Regions from separate parts of the Homo sapiens genome. Here all the other regions are linked to region 3. The links are contacts of gene promoters, found by promoter capture Hi-C in human tissues and cell types (Jung and others, 2019). All regions are on one chromosome and are shown on one strand. Each heading gives the region's core, a stretch centred on a gene start or on the middle of the fragment in contact. The rest is flanking DNA. Distances are from core to core; before and after follow the strand shown.

Evidence for each region. The method cuts DNA at HindIII sites, captures the fragments that hold promoters and counts their contacts. A contact is called where the count stands out against the background at its distance.
Region 1: a fragment that was not itself captured here is called in contact with the fragment with the promoter of ENOX1 in region 3 in 1 of the 25 tissues and cell types used here (mesenchymal stem cells).
Region 2: a contact is called between a fragment that was not itself captured here and the fragment with the promoter of ENOX1 in region 3, in 1 of the 25 tissues and cell types used here (lymphoblastoid cells).
Region 4: a contact is called between a fragment that was not itself captured here and the fragment with the promoter of ENOX1 in region 3, in 1 of the 25 tissues and cell types used here (lymphoblastoid cells).
Region 5: a fragment that was not itself captured here is called in contact with the fragment with the promoter of ENOX1 in region 3 in 1 of the 25 tissues and cell types used here (lymphoblastoid cells).

What each region holds. Positions count from the first base shown.
Region 1 is chr13:42,326,588-42,329,904 of GRCh38, forward strand. No RefSeq gene overlaps it. Among named protein-coding and RNA genes, the nearest start is that of AKAP11, 56 kb to the left of the region's middle. The HindIII fragment of the contact is 4,917 bases long and covers 1-3,317 here.
Region 2 is chr13:42,759,361-42,762,694 of GRCh38, forward strand. No RefSeq gene overlaps it. Among named protein-coding and RNA genes, the nearest start is that of FAM216B, 21 kb to the right of the region's middle. RefSeq lists an enhancer at 3,241-3,334. The HindIII fragment of the contact is 3,460 bases long and covers 1-3,070 here.
Region 3 is chr13:43,785,526-43,789,270 of GRCh38, forward strand. ENOX1 (ecto-NOX disulfide-thiol exchanger 1) reads right to left here and starts at 1,447. Exons shown (of 17, transcript NM_001347969.2): 1 at 1,127-1,447. The HindIII fragment of the contact is 9,406 bases long and covers 1-3,745 here.
Region 4 is chr13:42,652,241-42,655,980 of GRCh38, forward strand. No RefSeq gene overlaps it. Among named protein-coding and RNA genes, the nearest start is that of TNFSF11, 80 kb to the left of the region's middle. The HindIII fragment of the contact is 5,098 bases long and covers 1-3,740 here.
Region 5 is chr13:42,672,362-42,675,865 of GRCh38, forward strand. No RefSeq gene overlaps it. Among named protein-coding and RNA genes, the nearest start is that of TNFSF11, 100 kb to the left of the region's middle. The HindIII fragment of the contact is 4,331 bases long and covers 1-3,487 here.

The sequences.
Region 1 (3,317 bases), core at 802-3,301, 1.5 Mb before region 3:
GCTCTAATAAGGTGGGGTAAATACTAGGTCTTGCATAAGTACAGAGTGGTAGGAGATGAAAATAGTCCGTGCCTTTATGGAGCTTCTTGTTTAGTGAAGCAGAGAGTCATTAAATGAGTGACTGTATACAGTGAAGTCCTCGCTTACGTCATTGAGAGGATCTTAGAAACTGCAACTTTAAGCAAAATGCCATATAATGAAATCATTATTTTCTCATCAACCTTATAATGAAGTGAGGTAAATATTTAATTACTGTTGTTCAAAGGTGTCGGAAGCTAAAGACGGGAATCTAGTCAAAGCTTCCCTAAAGCCGTTCTGAGGCTTAAGCTAGGTTTGAACTGAGTAGGAACCAGACAAGGGGAGTTGGAGGGTGGAGGTGAGAAGGGCAGGTGGGGAGAAGAGGTTTCCACTAGAGAAAAACCATGCACAAATGCCCGGGAGTATAGGACTTCTTTGGAAAACCAAAGACCAGTTTGGCTGGAGCATGAAGAGAAGTGACACATCCTGAGAAACACACATCTAGCTGGCTGTCAGCCAGGTGGTCCAAGAAAGTGTTTGTAGTTTGTTACACCACAAGTCACCGGTTTTAAGTCCAAGGCATGGCGGATGATCGTCTTCACTTGACACTGTGCTTTCCAGACCATGCCTAGAGTATTGTGTTTAGTTCCCGATACCATTTTACAAAGGACAGAGATACATGGAACCATCCACATCCATGACTGTCTAATGAGGCCAAGGAGCTAAAAATGTATTAAATGAGTTCAGTGAAAGACAAAAAGGCTGTTTGGCCTAAAGAAGGAGAGATGTAGGAGTAACCTCAAAACTGCCTTTAAATATATGAAGTGCTTTTAGTGGAGACAGATTAAAACCTGTGACCCTAGTGGAGGGGATGAGGTCCCATGAGGAGAAATTAGCAGTGGATTTCAGCTTGTGCTCTAAAAATTGGAGCTTTGCAATATGGGCGAGACCCCCTTAATGAAAAGGAGCATTTCTGGCCCTTGGAGAGGTTTCCACAGTGCTGGCTGATCACTCCTGCAAGTTTTGATAAGAAATCCAAACAGCTTATAACTTTGGATTAGGTGACCTTTGTGTTCCAACACGTCCTTTCCCACACACTACTTAATTTTTTCCACAGTCGTTTAGTGAAGTTGTTAAGAACCTGGGCTCTGGGGTCAAAAGAACTTGATTTAAAATCCCAGAGCAAAGGCCCAGGATGATGGTATCTTGGGGGATTTTCATTTTCTTCTGGCAGGTGCCTGGGGGCACAGCTAGTCTTGGAGCACCTTGATTTAAATTCAAGCTTTGAGGGTTTTGGATCCCTCTGGTGGCTTGATGTGCTGCATGTCCAGGTCAGGGCCTGTGTCTGGAAGGTGTAGCCCTTTGGGGTTACAAGTAGAGAGGGGATGGTTTATGAGAATCTCTTTGTTGGAGGGGGTGGGGAGAACTGACTTTTGCCTTTCTGGCCTTGTGAGTCTGCCAAAATACTATCCTGTATCACAGTCTTTTTTCCTTCAGGTTTGACAAATATTCTTAGGATGAAAGAGTGGCTTTGAATGCTCAGTGGTTTACTTCTTGGGGTTCTTTGCTTTTGCTAGATATTTGACCCATTGCATCCTCAATATCTTACTAGCTGTTTAAATGCTTTCAAGAAGGTGTTTCTTTTTTTTCTGAGACGGAGTTTCACTCTTGTCGCCCAGGCTGGAGTGCAGTGGTGCGATCTACATTCACTGCAGCCTCTGCGTCCCAGGTTCAAGCAATTCTCCTGCCTCAGCCCCTGGAGTAGTTGGGATTACAGGTGCCCGCCACCACGCCTGGCTAATTTTTTGTATGTTTAGTAGAGACGGGGTTTCACCATCTTGGCCATTCTGGTCTCAAACTCCTGACCTCAGGTGATCCACGCGCCTTGGCCTCCCAAAGTGCTGGGATTACAGGTGTGAGCCACTGGGCCTCCAGATGTTTCATATTTTATCCAACTTAATTACTTCTAATATTTTAATTTACATGAAGGACTTTTATTATTATTATTTTTTTTGCTTAGCTCCATGTGATTAACTGTTAATATCCTTTTAATTTTCTTTTACATTTTAATTTATCTTCTTGAAAGGGTTATATATGCATATGGTATTAAATTCCAAAAGGTATAAGAATGTATAGTGACAAGTATCCCTCTCACCACTCTCTAGCCACCAAGTACCCCCACCACCCCCAGAGATAACCACTGTTACCAGTTTCTGTTCCATCAGCACTGTGCTATACAGGACCTTTCAAAACTTAGATTGGCTTTTGTAACTTGTAGTTGGATACAAATCTGAAAGTTTCAAAAAACAGGAAATGACCAAATCATTTAGTAAGGATAGTGGTTACTTCTAGGGGAGAAGGAGGTACAGGAGCCTCCCATGGTGCCAACAATATTCTGTTTTCTTGACTTTGGATTGTGGTTAAACTGCCCAGATAGATTCTAAGCAATTCTGTGTATATATTTCACATCATGCATGTGTATGCACATGCACACACATCTAAAAAAAATCTGCAAAACTGATCATCTTGAAGACAACCAGAGAGAACAAATGGGTTACCTGAAAAACAAAATTGATTCACAGTAGTGTGCTCAAAGATGATGATAGAAGCCAAAAGGAAATAATGTCTTCAAAGTGCTGATTTTAAAAAAGTCAGTCTAGAATTTCATATCCTTCAAAACTGTTTTTCAAGAGTGAATGTAAATTTAAAGTAATTTCTAATAGATTGAAAGAGTTTACAATGAACTGTGCTGAAAAAAACTACTGAAGGATATATTACTTTTGTAAGAAGGAAATTGAGCTTATAAGGAAATAGCACTGTTTAAAATAAGAATTAAAATAGAAAATGAAAGAGAAAGAGTGAGCACCTAAAATGTAATGCAGGTTCATATAATAATTCCTGTTTACTCTCTATGGCAAGCATTTCCTATCATTGAATCCAGTATCAACCCTGTCATTATTATTTCTGTTTTTCATGTGAGAAGCTGAGGCTCAGAGGGGTTAAGTTTCTTACCCAATGAGCATAGTGGTAATGAATGCCCAGGTCTGGCAGGCTCCAATGCCCAAGTTCTGTCCATTGCACTACAATCTATCACCAAATTTAGAAACAGAAATATAAAAAGATGACAAAATCACTTGTAATAACACATAGTGTATTAGTCTGTTCTAACACTGCTAATAAAGACATACCTGAGACTGGGTAATTTATAAAGGAAAGAGGTTTAATTGACTCACAGTTCAGCATGGCTGGGGAGGCCTCAGGAAACTTAAAATCTTGGTGGGAGGGGAAGCAAACATGTC
Region 2 (3,334 bases), core at 91-2,590, 1.0 Mb before region 3:
CACATTATGGAGGGTAATCTGATTTACTTAAGGTGCACTGATTATAAATGTTAGTCACATCTAAAAACTACCCTTATAACAACATCTAGACTAGTGTTTGACCAAACAACTGGGCATCCTAGTCTAGCCAACTTGACACATAAAATCAACCATCACACTGCCCATTAGCCACAGGTGCACAAAGTTGGGGAGGAAACATTTTAGAAGCTGTGAATACAAATGTTATCTCCAACTGAGGAAAAATGTTGTTAACTTAGAGGCTATTTTTTAATGCACTGTCTAAATTTACGAAGAATGCGCTTAAATATGCCTTTTTAAATTTTGTCTTCTAATTTGCAAATAACCCATACCACCTCCCTCCTTTGTACCCAAATACTCCCTTCTCTGAACAAATGATTGCATCTGCCATTTCACCTTCTGGAATGCCCTTCCTCTTCCTCATGAAAGGCATTAATCAAGACACTTGTCCTCCACTACATTTTCCATGATGCCTCTCGTCTAGCTGCAGGCTTCCTAGATGCTCCACAACTCATAGAGCTATAGAACTTTAGAATTTGAAGGGAGGATACTTAGTAGCCAACATAGTCAAATTTCCTCTTTTTACCTCTAAGGAAACTGGAGGCAGTGACTCTCCTGAATTTGAGGTGAAAGCAGGCCTAGAATTCAGGTCTATTCTCTGCTAGCCTCAGGCTTTTATAGATAGGGTAGGCAGGGGAGAACCATTGCATATTGGAAATAAAACTATCCTGATGGAATAGATGAGATTCTGCCCTGGATATAACTAGTAGACCTTGACCAAGATTTTTAATCTCCTGGAATGCCAGTTTCTTAATTTGTTAAATGGCTTAAATCAGTGCTTCTCAAACATAGATAGGCATATGGATCGCCTGGGATCTTGTCAAAACAGACTCTATTTCAACAGGTATGGGTTGAGGCCTGAGGTTCTGCATTTCTTTTTTTTTTTTTTTTTTTTTTGAGATGGAGTTTCGCTCTTATTGCCCAGGCTAGAGTGCAATGGCGCAATCTCGGCTCACCGCAACCTCTGCCTCCCAGATTTAAGCAATTATCGTACCTCAGCCTCCCGAGTAGCTGGGATTACAGGCATGTGTCAACTCGCCCGGCTAATTTTTGTATTATTAGTAGAGATGGGGTTTCTCCATGTTGGTCAGGCTGGTCTCGAACTCCCAACCTCAGGTGATCTGCCTGCCTCTGCCTCCCAAAGTGCTGGGATTACAGGCGTGAGTCACTGCACCCAGCTGAGGTTCTGCATTTCTAACCAGCTTTCAGTTGCTTGCCTACACTACTGAGTGCCTGGATTTTCTTTTGAGTAGATGGGCACAGATGATCTCTAAGCCCACTTTGAGCTTTACAACTCTGCGATGTGGTGATTCTATGATTGGAGATGGCAGTGTCAAAGGCATATAAAATGGGCTGTAGGGAAAAAAAATACTAAATTTTACCTACACTTCTCTGTACACTTTTGCCTACAGTATTTTCTTCTACATAGGATCACCATATATTCTAATTTGCCTGAGAAAGTCTTGGCTTATGCCTGTTTCCCATTCTGATTAATCGTAGAGACCCTTTCACTATCAAAAAATGATATGGTCACTTATCTTCTAAGTTACTTTTTCTCCTTATCTGTGTCCACAGAATACAGAATGCATTAGATTCCCACCATTTGCCTATTTCAAGCCAAGGAAAAAAGTGTGTTCCAGATAGTTTTTTTACACAGTACGTCAGAACCCCATGATTTGTGAATTGCTGTTTTGTTTCCCTACTAACAGCATAGTCAGTTCAGGAATTTTTGGCAAGGGCCTTTTGCGTCCAGCCCGCCCAAGATGTGGGACCCTGGGAAAAACTGCTTGCTGTTTGTTTTGTGGTGACTGACAGCAAAGCTCGCTTGAAAAATTAAAAGCTACATGGAAAATACCTCACGGGTGATTTTTCCATTCCCTAGTCTCACAGAATCCTTGTCTGAGTGTACAGTTCCCAAGTTCAGGGGCACCTTCAGGCAGTGAACTTCGATGCCCACCTATCTCAAGGCATTCCTCAAAGCACTGCATGAAGGGTGGGGTTCAGCCCCAAACCGTAAACCCCTCACCTACTGTTTCTTTGTCTACTTTCTTTTTTTTTTTTTGAGATGGAGTCTCGCACTGTCTCCCAGGCTGGAGTGCAGTGGCACAATCTCAACTCACTGCAACCTCTGCCTCCTGGCTTCAAGTGATTCTCCTGCCTCAGCCTCCCAAGCAGTTGGGATTACAGGCGCCCACCACCACACCAAGCTAATTTTTCGTATTTTTAGTAGAGACGGAGTTCCACTATGTTGGCCAGGCTAGTCTCAAACTCCTGACCTCGTGATCCTCCTGCCTCGGCCTCCCAAAGTGCCGGGATTACAGGCATGAGCCACTGAGCCCAGCCTCTTTGTCTACTTTCTGTCTTGCATTGTATTTCTCCAAAGAATCCCAATCAAGGGATTATATTCCCAGAAGCTTTAATATCAATTATTATTTATCTTTTATTATTAGCTAGTGAGAGTCAATAATAGCTAGTGGCCTTTATTCATTTTTCTATTCATTTAATAACTATTTGCTAAGTGCCTACAGTGTGCTAAGAGAAGATTATTTGACAGCTGAAATTAAGAACTGGACACAGGTTTAGTCTGTGGATCTTAGTCCCTAACTGAAAGAAGATGGGAAAGAGAGAGGGTTGTTAGTGGAAAATTGAAGGGGTAATAAACGTGACAGCCTCTTGTTTTCTACAATTGATTCAGAACATAAGTGCCTATGCATAAAAAGGAGAAAGAGACACGTAATTAATATCGGTCACAAAGGATTAGCCCACTGCTGGGCCATCCAGGAGACCTTGACCACCTGTTTAAACCTGCAACTCAGCCCCTAACTCGGAACTCCAAATCTCTGTGATCCTCTATTTTTTCCACTGCGCTTGCCTTATAATATATAATATAACTCACCTTTTTATGGTGTTTATTGTCTATCTTCCTCCATTGGAATGTGTGCTCCATAAACTGGTTGAGTAAGTGGCTCAGACCTGTAAAATGATGTCAGACACGCAACATTCCAGAATGAGCTGAAACTTGAAAACAATGTCAGAACAACAGAAAGGGATTTTTTTTAAACTGTGAAAAGTAAGAAGAAACAGATAAACACACAGAGGGTTGAGGAATGTTGAATACACTTTAACAAATGACAGAGAGCAGAATCACTCAACTCCTATTTTGCTTCTGTCTTCTCCAGGAAGAAAAACAAAATGGGAACTTGAAAGCACCAGGCAGAGTAAATAATATAAAGAAGGAATTGCAATTCAGAGCATA
Region 3 (3,745 bases), core at 197-2,696:
CAATCTTAACAAAATTGGGATTACAAAGCCAGTTTTTTTCATGTAATGTTACAGCAGTGAAAGATTGAGGGAGAGAAAAGGAGAGAAGCAGGAGTGTATCTGGGTGAAGAAGCGTGGCTCAGTGGCTATACAGTGAGACGCAGAGATTCCACAGAGCTGGGCTTGCCCACCTGTCGACCCCACTTTCCCCATGTGCTCGCCGCGGGATGACAACCACAACACTCCAGAACCACCCCCCTTCCGAAAGAGGGCGGGGTTACGCCTTCAGCCAATCAGGACCCGCGAGCCCCGGGTGTCCAACCTATGGGGTGGCTGTGGCCGTGCAGGGGGAGGACGTGGGGTGGTCTGGGAGGGGCCGCGTCCGTGGGAGGCTCGCACGTGTCGGGTCCGGAGAGGCGGGGAGGCGGCCGGCGTCCAGCGGCCGAGGCGCGGGCTCTGCACCCTGGCAGCGGCCGAGTCCGGCTGCCCCAGTGCCTCCTTTACCTCGCGTTGGGCCAGGCAGGGCGCGCTCCCGCCGACGAAGACCTGTCCAAGGTGTCCGAGCTCCCCGCGAGAGGGGACAGTCACGAATAACAACAGTACCCAGCGCAGACTAGGCGGGGAGGAAAGTTTCCGGCCCGCAGCAGAGCGGAGTCCGCCAAGGCTGGAGGAAAAGGGATGCAGAGCGGGAGGGTGAAAACCTGAAAGAAGAGGGCAGCGGGAACACTGTGTGGGCAGGAACGGGTCCCGGGGGCGACGCCCGCAGGGGGAGACGGGTGCGGGGTGCGCTGTCCAAGGTGCAGGGGAGGTGACTGGCGCGCGGCGGGCGCGGAGCCCGGAGCTGACACTGGCTGGCGGGCGGAGGGGAGAGCGGGGAACAGCTGTCTGGGGCGCTGGGCACCCCCGGGCGCGTAAAAGTGAGGGAGCTTGAGACGGGGCACGGCGGGGAAGGGCGTGGGGGCTGCACCGAAGCCCCCACGCGTCCACGCACCCCTCCTCACCAGCCTCACCTCTAGCTCCACTCCCCTCCCCCCTCGCCCACTCCCCTCTCAGTCTAGATCCAGGTGCCGTGGCGGGGGTGAGACCAGAGGACCCCGGCTCGGAGCCCGGACGCCCCAGGGAGGCTGCGGGCCCCGGAGCTGCTTACCTGGGGCCGCCGTATGGGGAGCGGAGGCAACCCGCTGCGCGGAGTGGGGCGCCGGGCGCGGCGCGGCTCCTCCTAGCCTCGGCGTCCTCCTCCTCCTTTGCTTCTCCCGGACTCTGTCCCGGGCACGGAGCTGGGAGACGCGGCCGGGCTGCAGTCGCCGTTCCCTCTGCTGCCGCCGCCGCTGCAGCAGACAGAGGACGCCCCGTGGCGGCTGGAAGCCTGTGTGAGTAGCGGCGCCCGGGAGAGCGGGGATCTGCTGAGGGGCGCTGGAGACTCCGCGGCTGGAGGCGCGCGGGCGTGCGCACGCGCGCCTGCGAGTGTGAGTGTATGGGTGCGCGCGCGCCCACGGGGTGGGGGAGTCGCGAGGGGAGGGGGAGAGAGGCCGAGAGATGCTCGTAGGGACCGAGGCAAAATTCTACGACCCCGGAAATCCGTAAACGCGGGGAAGGAGGATCGAACGCGTGTCTCGCTTGGAGAAGCTGCCCACGGGGCGGCAGCAGAGGAGGAGGGGAAGTCAGCGAGGCGCGCTAGGGCTCCGGATCCCAGCCCGGCAGAGCCGAGCGGAGCGCGCAGCCACCGATGCAGCAGAGGCGGCGCCCGCAGCCCACGGTCGCGCTGCCCCCTCTCGGGAGGGGCCGAGGCCGCTCGCTCCCGCCACCGCCGCCGCGGTCGGGACTGCTCTACTGGGAGCGGGGGAACCGAGAGAGGGACCGCACGGTTGCTACGGCGACCTTGGAGGGGCCGGGCCCGCTGAAGGGCCAAGAGAAGAACCCGGGCGCACGTGGCCGACTCCAGGCTGGAGCGGGCGTGTTACAGGATTGTGGGCTTGGGGTAGACGGTGGAATTGGGCCGCGTGGCCTGGGCAGATGATGCGGGGTGTGCGGCCCAGAGTGGCTCGGCCGGGGTGCGGTCAGCATTCAGGTTGGTAAGGGTGAGGGGATCCTAACCCCAGGTGACATGTTGCCTTTTTTTCCTCCTTGGAGGCTACTTTTTCTCAAAGTTACCCACTTCCCAGGTAAGAATGCCGGCCTCCTCTTTGTTAGGATTCAACTTAGCTGTGCAGGCATCTAAGCAGTGCCTCCTTAGAGTCAGGCTCGTCCAAGAACCGCTCCCACCACCTCCCCACACACACCCACATCCCCCGATCCTCCATCCCAACTACATTGTAATACTTCAGAAATAAATGTTTAAAGCACATTTACATTCTCTGCCTCTTAACAGATATATTGTCTTAGTAGTATACTTTTCCTTGCTTATTTTAAATTCTGAGTGGGATTTTATTCACACAAGCATTTCTTCAAGGGTCGTAAGGTCTGGGTAATACTTGAAATACCCTTTCTGGCAGGAATCCTCAATGCAGGGATTGTGTTTTGCACACTTTTGCATGCCTTCCAGTGCTTAGCATAGTACTCTGTACTTTGTGAGTTCCCTGTAAATGTTGAATGAATGACATTGTTTTCTAGCTTCACGTAACCTGAAGGCAAAGACTTGGATGCTGGGAAAGTCATTACCACCCCACTAGGCTTGCCTGATTTTAACTTATGCCATTTCCTTGTGTGTGGCTATTTTTCCCCCTGGCGGTCAGAACCCCAATGCAAAGAAAGAAAATAATACTTATCCATTGTGCACCCTTAACAAAGGATGCATGTAGAAGCACTCTGCAGGGACCCCAGTGGGATGCCCTGGGTGTGAGGGGGCCAAAGCTCAGAACCTAACCTCTCAAAATGTGAAAGTCAGTGTTCACCAGCAGTTTATACTGTCCCTTCTAGAGCAGAAGGATGGGGAAAACAGTTTTAAGAGAAATACACTTTTGTTTTTTGTTTTTTGAGACGGAACCTCGCTCTGTCACCCAGGCTGGAGTGCAGTGGCGCGATCTCGGCTCACTGCAACCTCTGCCTCCCGGGTTCAAGCGAATTCTCCTGCCTCAGCCTCCTAGTAGCTAGGATTACAGGCGCCGGCCACCACGCTCGGCTAATTTTTTTTTTTTTTTTTTTTTTTTTTTTTTTTTAGTTTTTAGTTTTTAGTAGAGACACAGTTTCACCATGTTTTCCAGACTGGTCTCCAACTCCTGACCTCAAGTGATCCGCCTGCCTCGGCCTCCCAAAGTGCTGGGATTACAGGCATGAGCCACCGCTCCAGGCCAGAAATACACATTTCTAATAGCTTATCAGGTACGCATTTTTCTCCTGTAAAGAGTAGTGTTCATGGACACTGACCAATACATGCAGGGTCACCCCAGACTGCTAATTCTGCTGTCTGGTGTAGCACCAAGTCCACATCCTTCGACCTCGGTATTTCTACAATCATCGTCTTAGAAGCAGAAGTCTTCAATTTTGCATTTCATGCTAAATTTCAATTCCTTTGAACTCAGGCCCGCCTATGAGCTGCTTCTCTCTCCACTCATGATACCACAGCTGTGAAATATAACTGAAATAAAGTGAAAATTAAAATGGATTTATTTGGGTACCGTGTGTTCTTTAGTGGGGGTCCCTTTAACTGATTTATCTACCTTCACTCAATTGACAATCTTCTTAGAAGACATTTGTTGTGATATTGGAGCTTTTTTATTAGGTTGAAAGCTTACTTAAATTTCTCACTTGAAAGGAAGCTCTAAAACTT
Region 4 (3,740 bases), core at 702-3,201, 1.1 Mb before region 3:
CCAAAAAGTAAGTTCTTTTAGCTTGTCTCTTTTCCCAGAGGAAGAAACGAAATTTTAGAGAAATTAAAGCTGAATCATATAAAATTGCTAATGTTTGACTGTTTTTGACCCACAGATATGGCAATCTCATATCTCACCTGGTTCAACCTGGTAATGTGTCTGAGGTCACACAGCGGGCAAGTGTGGAGCAGAAATTATTCAAGGCATCGCACTCCAAACCCCACTAGGCAACGTGGCTTACTTCTAGCTAAAAGATGAGAGCAGGTAACCTTGGGGCCGAGATTATCAGACTAGTTGAAAAGTCACTGAAGGCAATCACATCAGGACACCTCAGAAAGTATTTTTTGTATAAAGTCAGGGGAGGCAACTTGATTCACTGAAAGCTAGCAATGGTTTTGGATTAAGTGGAGTTCTGAACATTTCATTTCATATTTGCCACAAAATTGCCAAAAGAGACTTCCTCTCTGAGTCTCATATTTTCCTGTTAAATGGGTATGATAACCATGGTCATCTGAAGGATACTTTGGAAGGGATACATAAGCTGAATTGTTCAGGAGAGAAGAGCCAATCAACATTTCTGGCAAGGAATGTCTAGGACCTGAGGAATGCTTCACAAAATGTCTGTCTTACTGTGTGTGTTTCACAGTGAGCAGGTCTATGAAAACCCGCCCCAAAGGCCAAGGGAGCTGAGAGGTTGAAGAAAGAGGCTGACAACTCCAGTTTCTCAGAAAGAAATATTTAATGGGGACTTATTAACAGAAGCAATGTCTTGGGCAGCCTTAAGATGGTGGATCCCCAAAACCTGCCCTCCAGAAAGCATCCTTTAAATAGCATGATTTTAGGTGAAAGGCATTAGCAGCTGATCACACTTCAGACTTTCTTGCAAAACACATGACCACTAGGAAAGTTAGATAAGCATCTTTATGAGGGCTTGTCTATACCACAGCCATTGTTTAAAGACCTTGCTGAATACCTTGGTCTCTGCAGGAATTAAACATCAGTTATCATGGTGGTTTCACTCCAAGATGTTGTCACTTTTGCCATGCAACAGGCTGGTTTCTTACAGCATGGAAGAGAACACTGGACTAGGCTCCTGTCAATATTCAGCAGAATGGATGAGCAGCCATTTTCTGTTTCTAGATTGTTTGCTCCTTCAGAGTTGGGAGATCTTTGATGATTCAAGAGTTCTGACATATTTTGGTGAGCCAGCTTGTTGTTAACATAAATCAGATGAAGTTGAAAGCCCACCTCAGCATCACAAGGTCAGTGGCTGTTGTCACTGGAAAAGCTCCTGAGGCACTTGCTTTCATAACTGTATTTACTAAAAAGAGCTTTTAAGAAACATTTATGTAAAAAGAACATTTCACAGGGTATATGCAGCCAGGCTGCAGATGTAAACGATAACAATTTATTTTGAAATTTGCTCTTTAATTCTGATGGATTTTCTAAGCCAATGATTCTGACTCCAACAGCTGCTGGGTGAGCAGTAGATACCTGGATAAATCAATTTGTTTGTTACCTCTAGAGTAGTGAATAATATGTCTTAGTTAGTGCAGTAAAGATTCCTGCCTTCAACATACAGAGCACCCAGGCGCAACTTGCATGTGATTGCAAATATTCAAATGAAATGTACAGATCCTGCAAAGGCTGAGTAATAAATCATGTGTCAGGCAAGCACCTTCCCATTTGCATGGATTTCGGTTGACTTAAAAGAGACAAGAAACAAACTAGGGGCCAGCACAACACAAAAGCCAACTCAGGATGTCTGTTACTGTGTGTGTGACAACGTGAGACCTGGCCTGGTTTTGCAAAAATTTAAATATAGGTTGATGTGGTCACTGCCTAGAGAACAGCATGATGAGAAGTGGGTCATAGAGTGTGCACCCCCAGGGTTTATCCTTCTGCCTGTATGCCTCTGGGTGAGGAGAATACGAGCCAAAAAGCCCCTGAAGGGAAATGGATGTGGAGAAGTCCTGCCCTTCTCCCCAAAACAGTATCTTGGAGTGGAGTAAGTGCTAGGAGAAGAGAAATGTAATCATTGTATGGAGGAGATCATAAAGCAATGGTCAATGAAAAGGAGGAAAACTCAGGAAAACAGAAAAAGGAGGTGAACAATCAATTAATAATTATTTTTATTAATTTAGTAATAATCTTTTACTAAATAAAAATTATTTTAAAATATTAATTTTAAATAACTTATTAACTTATTTTTATTTTTAAATTTTCTTCTTTTATTTTTTGTTCTTTTTCCTCTTTTTTCTTTTTATTCCTCTTTGTTTATTGATTTTTTGCAAACACCAACTCAAAGCAGAATTAATTAATTTTTTAATTGACAAAAATTGTGTATATTTATGGTGTACAACATTATGTTTCAATATATATATACATTGTGGAATGAGTAAATCAAGTTAATTAACATATGCCTTACCTCACATACTTATCATTTATTTCCAGTGAGAACACTTAAAATCTATTCTCTTAGTAGTTTTGAAGTATAAAATACATTGCTATTAACTACAGTTTCCATGTCATACAAGAGAAATCTTTAGTTTATTTCTCCTGTCTAATCGAAATTTTGTTGCTTTGGAACAGTATCTTCCTAATCCCCTCCTTCAAAGGAGTAGAATTTTCAGTAATAAGATATCAAGTTTTCAAAATGAAAACACTCATAAAACTAAAGAGAATGCCTGCATGACACAGTGAAGCAGAGCTTGCTCACTAGATGAGGAAAGCACCTATTTCATCATTTAACTTCAAAATCCTTCCAGATTTAATAGTTAGGATTTTAAACAGCTACATCTAGCTTTTCCTAGAAGTCTTGTTGCCTGTGAATGAAAGGGAGTTCTAATTTGGAAAATTAGATTTCTTCACCCCATCTCTGAAAGCTTCCCTGATATTTATTGGAGACCAGAAGCATGAGTTGAAGGGTCAGAGGATCTGTGCTTCAAATCTAAAGGTTTTGATACAAAATGAAAAAGTGTAGGAATATAGAAAAGAAATGACCAAAGGAATCAATGTTTACATTTTAAGTCTTTGGATATCTCCATGAGATTGATTCAGACGGTTGTAAACACGCAAAGCACAGTGAAAGTCTGTGTGCAGATGTTAAAACATGATTATTGGAAACCTATTATTTGGAAACCTATTATTCCAAGATCTGGGTGTTTAAAGTGGTCGGTGCGGTTTTGTTGGTTTTGTCTTTCTGGCTCCTTCTTAGGGACAGGGCAATGGTGAAATGTGTCCTCTTGTGGGATGTAAGGCAGTTTTGTTGTGGCAGAAATGGAAGGACTGGAAAAGGCTCCTACATAGAACAAGGAGTCACAACTCCCCATCTTCCACCTCATGCCACTTTGGTCAGATTGCTCAGGTATCTGGGTCCAAAAGTCAGACCGAGCAGCTTCCCCACCCATGGTGAATACAGAGTCAAAGTGAATCCATCATGTCCATTTTCAAAACAATATAAAACACATGCTGAGCCAATGCTAAAGCAGTGCTATCTTTGTACACTTAACTCTGTTAGACTGTACCCAGGACCTGTCTTTTGCTAAAGTATATCCAAGTATACCTGTACACACAAAGAGGTGGTTGTTGGAAATTTGTAGATGCCATGTGTCTATCTAGATTTGGTCTGCATTTGCAGGCTAGTAGCTCACCCGAAGATTCTAGATGCAATTCTGCTGGATGTTTTAGTTTCTAAGTCTTACCACTTGTGGCTTTGGGAAATCACTCACTGGGTCTTA
Region 5 (3,504 bases), core at 72-2,571, 1.1 Mb before region 3:
CACATTTATACACCCATAACAGCATTATTCACAAAAGCCAAAAGCTGGAAAAAAACCCCAACGTCCATCAAAGGATGAATGGATAAACAAGATGTGTTATATACATACAATGGAATGTTATTCAGCCTTAAAAAGAGAATGAGATTCTGATACATGCCACAACACGGATGAACCCAGAAAACGTGCTAAATAAAATGAACCATGCACAAAAGGGCAAATATTGTATGATTCTACTTATGCTATATCTAGAAAATTCATAGAGACAGAAAAGAATATAGTAGTTCCCAGGGACAGAGGGGGGCAGGTGGAAAGGGGAGTTATGTAATGGGTACAGAGTTTCTGTTGGGGGTGATGAATAAGCTCTGGAGATGTGATGATTGGGACGGCTGCACAATGATGTGACTATACTTAATGCCACTGAACTGCACACTCGGAATTGTTAAAATGGTAAATGTTATGTTATGTATATTTTATTGCACGCAAAAAGTCTTATTTAGAACAGTTCAACCCAGCAGGAGAATCTGTTCTGCTCCTGCTGACAGGGAGCAGGGGCAGGGAAGGAGCTTCCTCCCAGAAACTCCAGCCCAGGCAGCCTCCCCAGTGCTGCTCGGCACTTTTAATTACCACTAGCGTCCGACTGTTCCTCAAAGTCTCAACTGGGGGCTGTGTCAGTTGGCCCCTGCCACATCCTGATTGCCTTGCAGAAACTGCCTTCCTGGGCCATAATTGTCTTTTCAGATTACCTGGGTGCACGGACGGTAATCATTTGCTTGAACGTGATTGTGTCCTCAGCATGACACTAGAGGCTGGGCATAATAGAGCGTGAATAGAATTCAGGTGACTTGAAATTTGGTTTCCCCAGTTGACTTTTTCCCCACCCCACTCCCCATCCCTTCTCAGCTTCTCTGGCACATTGCAGCTTTCACTCCTTTGACAATATGGGCCGATTCTCTGGGTAGAAGTGGCATCTTGGTGCTCATTTGCATTTTCTACTGATGACATCCATATCAGAAGAAACCTGTCCATACTGTAGATCAAAATGATTTTTTTCCATCCTTAGCTGCCAGAACAATTCTTATCACTGAAGATCAAATATATTCCATGAGCTCATATATCATCATTACCTACAATACAAATTCTGAAATCCAAGCAGACCTGGCAATTTTATTGATGTTCAGAGCGGAACAGAGCCCAGGTCACCCTGAATCAGTTGCACTGCCTTTGCCTTGCTGACAGCAACAAACATGTCACTGACAATATTACCAAAGAAAAGATGACTCGGTAAGTTCCATGCAGAAGGTAACTTGTCAGTGACAGGGGTGGGATATTTTTATCCTTATAACTCAGTGCTAATGAAATTGGTGGGAAGAACATCTGACTGAGAATGTGTCCCCCAGGGAGCAGGGAGAAGCAGAAAGCACGGGAGTCGGCCTCTTTTCAAAGTCATTTTTCTCAATACTGTCATGATTTAATCAGGTGGTCTTAACAAGAGCTGAGGAGTGGAGGACCAGAAGCAATAACCAGTAAGGCCAGTTTTGTCATTCTCAAGCATGGCCTGTGGACAGCTCTGTAAGGCATGGACAATCTGTCATGCCTGGATCTTGGTTTTCTCATTTGTGCAGTGGAAAGAATCACACTATATGGTCCTTTGCTATTTGGAGGATTAAATGCTGTTTGTCAAGTGATTTGAGATCTAAGAATAGAAAGAATTATAATACAGGCCCATCTCACTCTCATTTTACAGTTGTTAGCAATTATTGAGGTATGGAAAGAAAGATGCCCAGCCACGAGAGGTTACCATCTGCCCTTTACTGGCATTTGGGGAAGGAAAGGAAATTAGAAAAGAAAAAGAAAATGTCAGTATATCAGAAGAAGATGAAGGGAAGGAGATAGGGTAAGACATTGTGCCAGTGGTCCCCAAGACCACCCTCAGGTTTGATGATTTACTAGAAAGACTCACGAGGCCCAGAAAAGCAGTTACACTCATGGTTATGGTTTATTACAGCAAAAGGATATGGATGAAGCAGCAAAGGAGAAAGATACATAGGTCAGATTTTAGGAAAGATGAGGGACAGAGCTTCCGGTTATCCTCTTCCGGTGGAGTTGCATAGACAGTGTTTAATTCTCTCAGCAACAATGGGTGACAACATGTACTAAGTATTGCCAAACAGGGAAGCTCACCTCAGCCTTGGTGTCCAGTGAGTTTTATTGGGAACCAGTCATGTAGACAGGTAGTGCCCATAGGACTGGCCTTAGCTACTCAGTCTCCAGCTTCCCTAAAAGGCCAAACTGACACAGCATGGTCCACAGCCTCAGGTATACAAAAGCATGCATCTACCATAAGGAACATTGTCAGCATAAACTATCTGGTGCGGCCCTAGGCCCCGGGTATACAAAGACAAACTTATCAGGCAGGATATTCCAAAGGCTCAGAGAATATCTTGCAGCCGCTGGTCAAGAGCCAGTCCTTCCTTTGAAATGTGCTGGGTTTGGGGTCTGCTACACAAACGTGAAAAGAAGTGAAATCCACATTCCTTCCACCTGCTCTCACTGAGGACAGAACTGTGACTGCCTAACAGGTTCACCTTGCTGGTTGCCTAGACAGAGCCAATTTATCAAGACAGGGGAACTGCAATAGAGAAAGAGTAATCCATGTGGGGATGGCTGTGTGGGAGACCAGAGTTTTATTATTACTCAAATCAGTCTCCTGAGCGTTTGGGGATCTGAGGTTTTAAGAATAATTTGGTGGGTAGTGGGGGCCAATGAGCAAGGAGCGCTGATCGGTCAGGTTGGAGATGAAATATTAGTGAGTCAAAGCTGTCTTCTTGTGCTGGGTCAGTTCCTAGATGGGGGCCACAAGATCAGATGAGCCACTTTAATAGATCTGGGTAGCAGCAGCTGATCCATCAAGTGCAGGATCTGCAAAATATCTCAAGCACTGGCCTTAGGTTTTACAATAGTGATGTTATCCCCACGAGCAATTTTAGGAGGATCAGAAACTTGTGGCCTCCGGCTGCATTACTCCCAAATCATAATTTCTAATCTTTTGGCTAATTTGTTAGTCCTACAAAGGCAGTCTAGTGCCAGGCAAGAAGATTTGTTTTGGGAAAGGGCTGTTATCATCTTTGTTTTAAACTTTAAACTAAATTCCTCCCAAAGTTAGTTCAGCCTATGTCCAGGAACGAACAAGGACAGCTTGGAGGTTAGAAGCAAGATGGAATTGGTTAGGTCAGATCTCTTTCACTATCTCAGGCATAATTTTGCAATGGCGATGGTTTCAGAACAATGTTAAATGTGCTGAAATCCTACATGCTATGGAACTGCTGAAAAGCTAAAGCCATATTGCAAACACATAATTCATCCATGACTATTCCTCTTTCTCAAGCATCTTTTTTTTTTTTTTTTTTTTTTTTTTTTTTTTTTGAGACGGAGTATCGCTCTGTCTCCCAGGCCGGACTGCGGACTGCAGTGGCGCAATCTCGGCTCACTGCAAGCTCCGCTTCC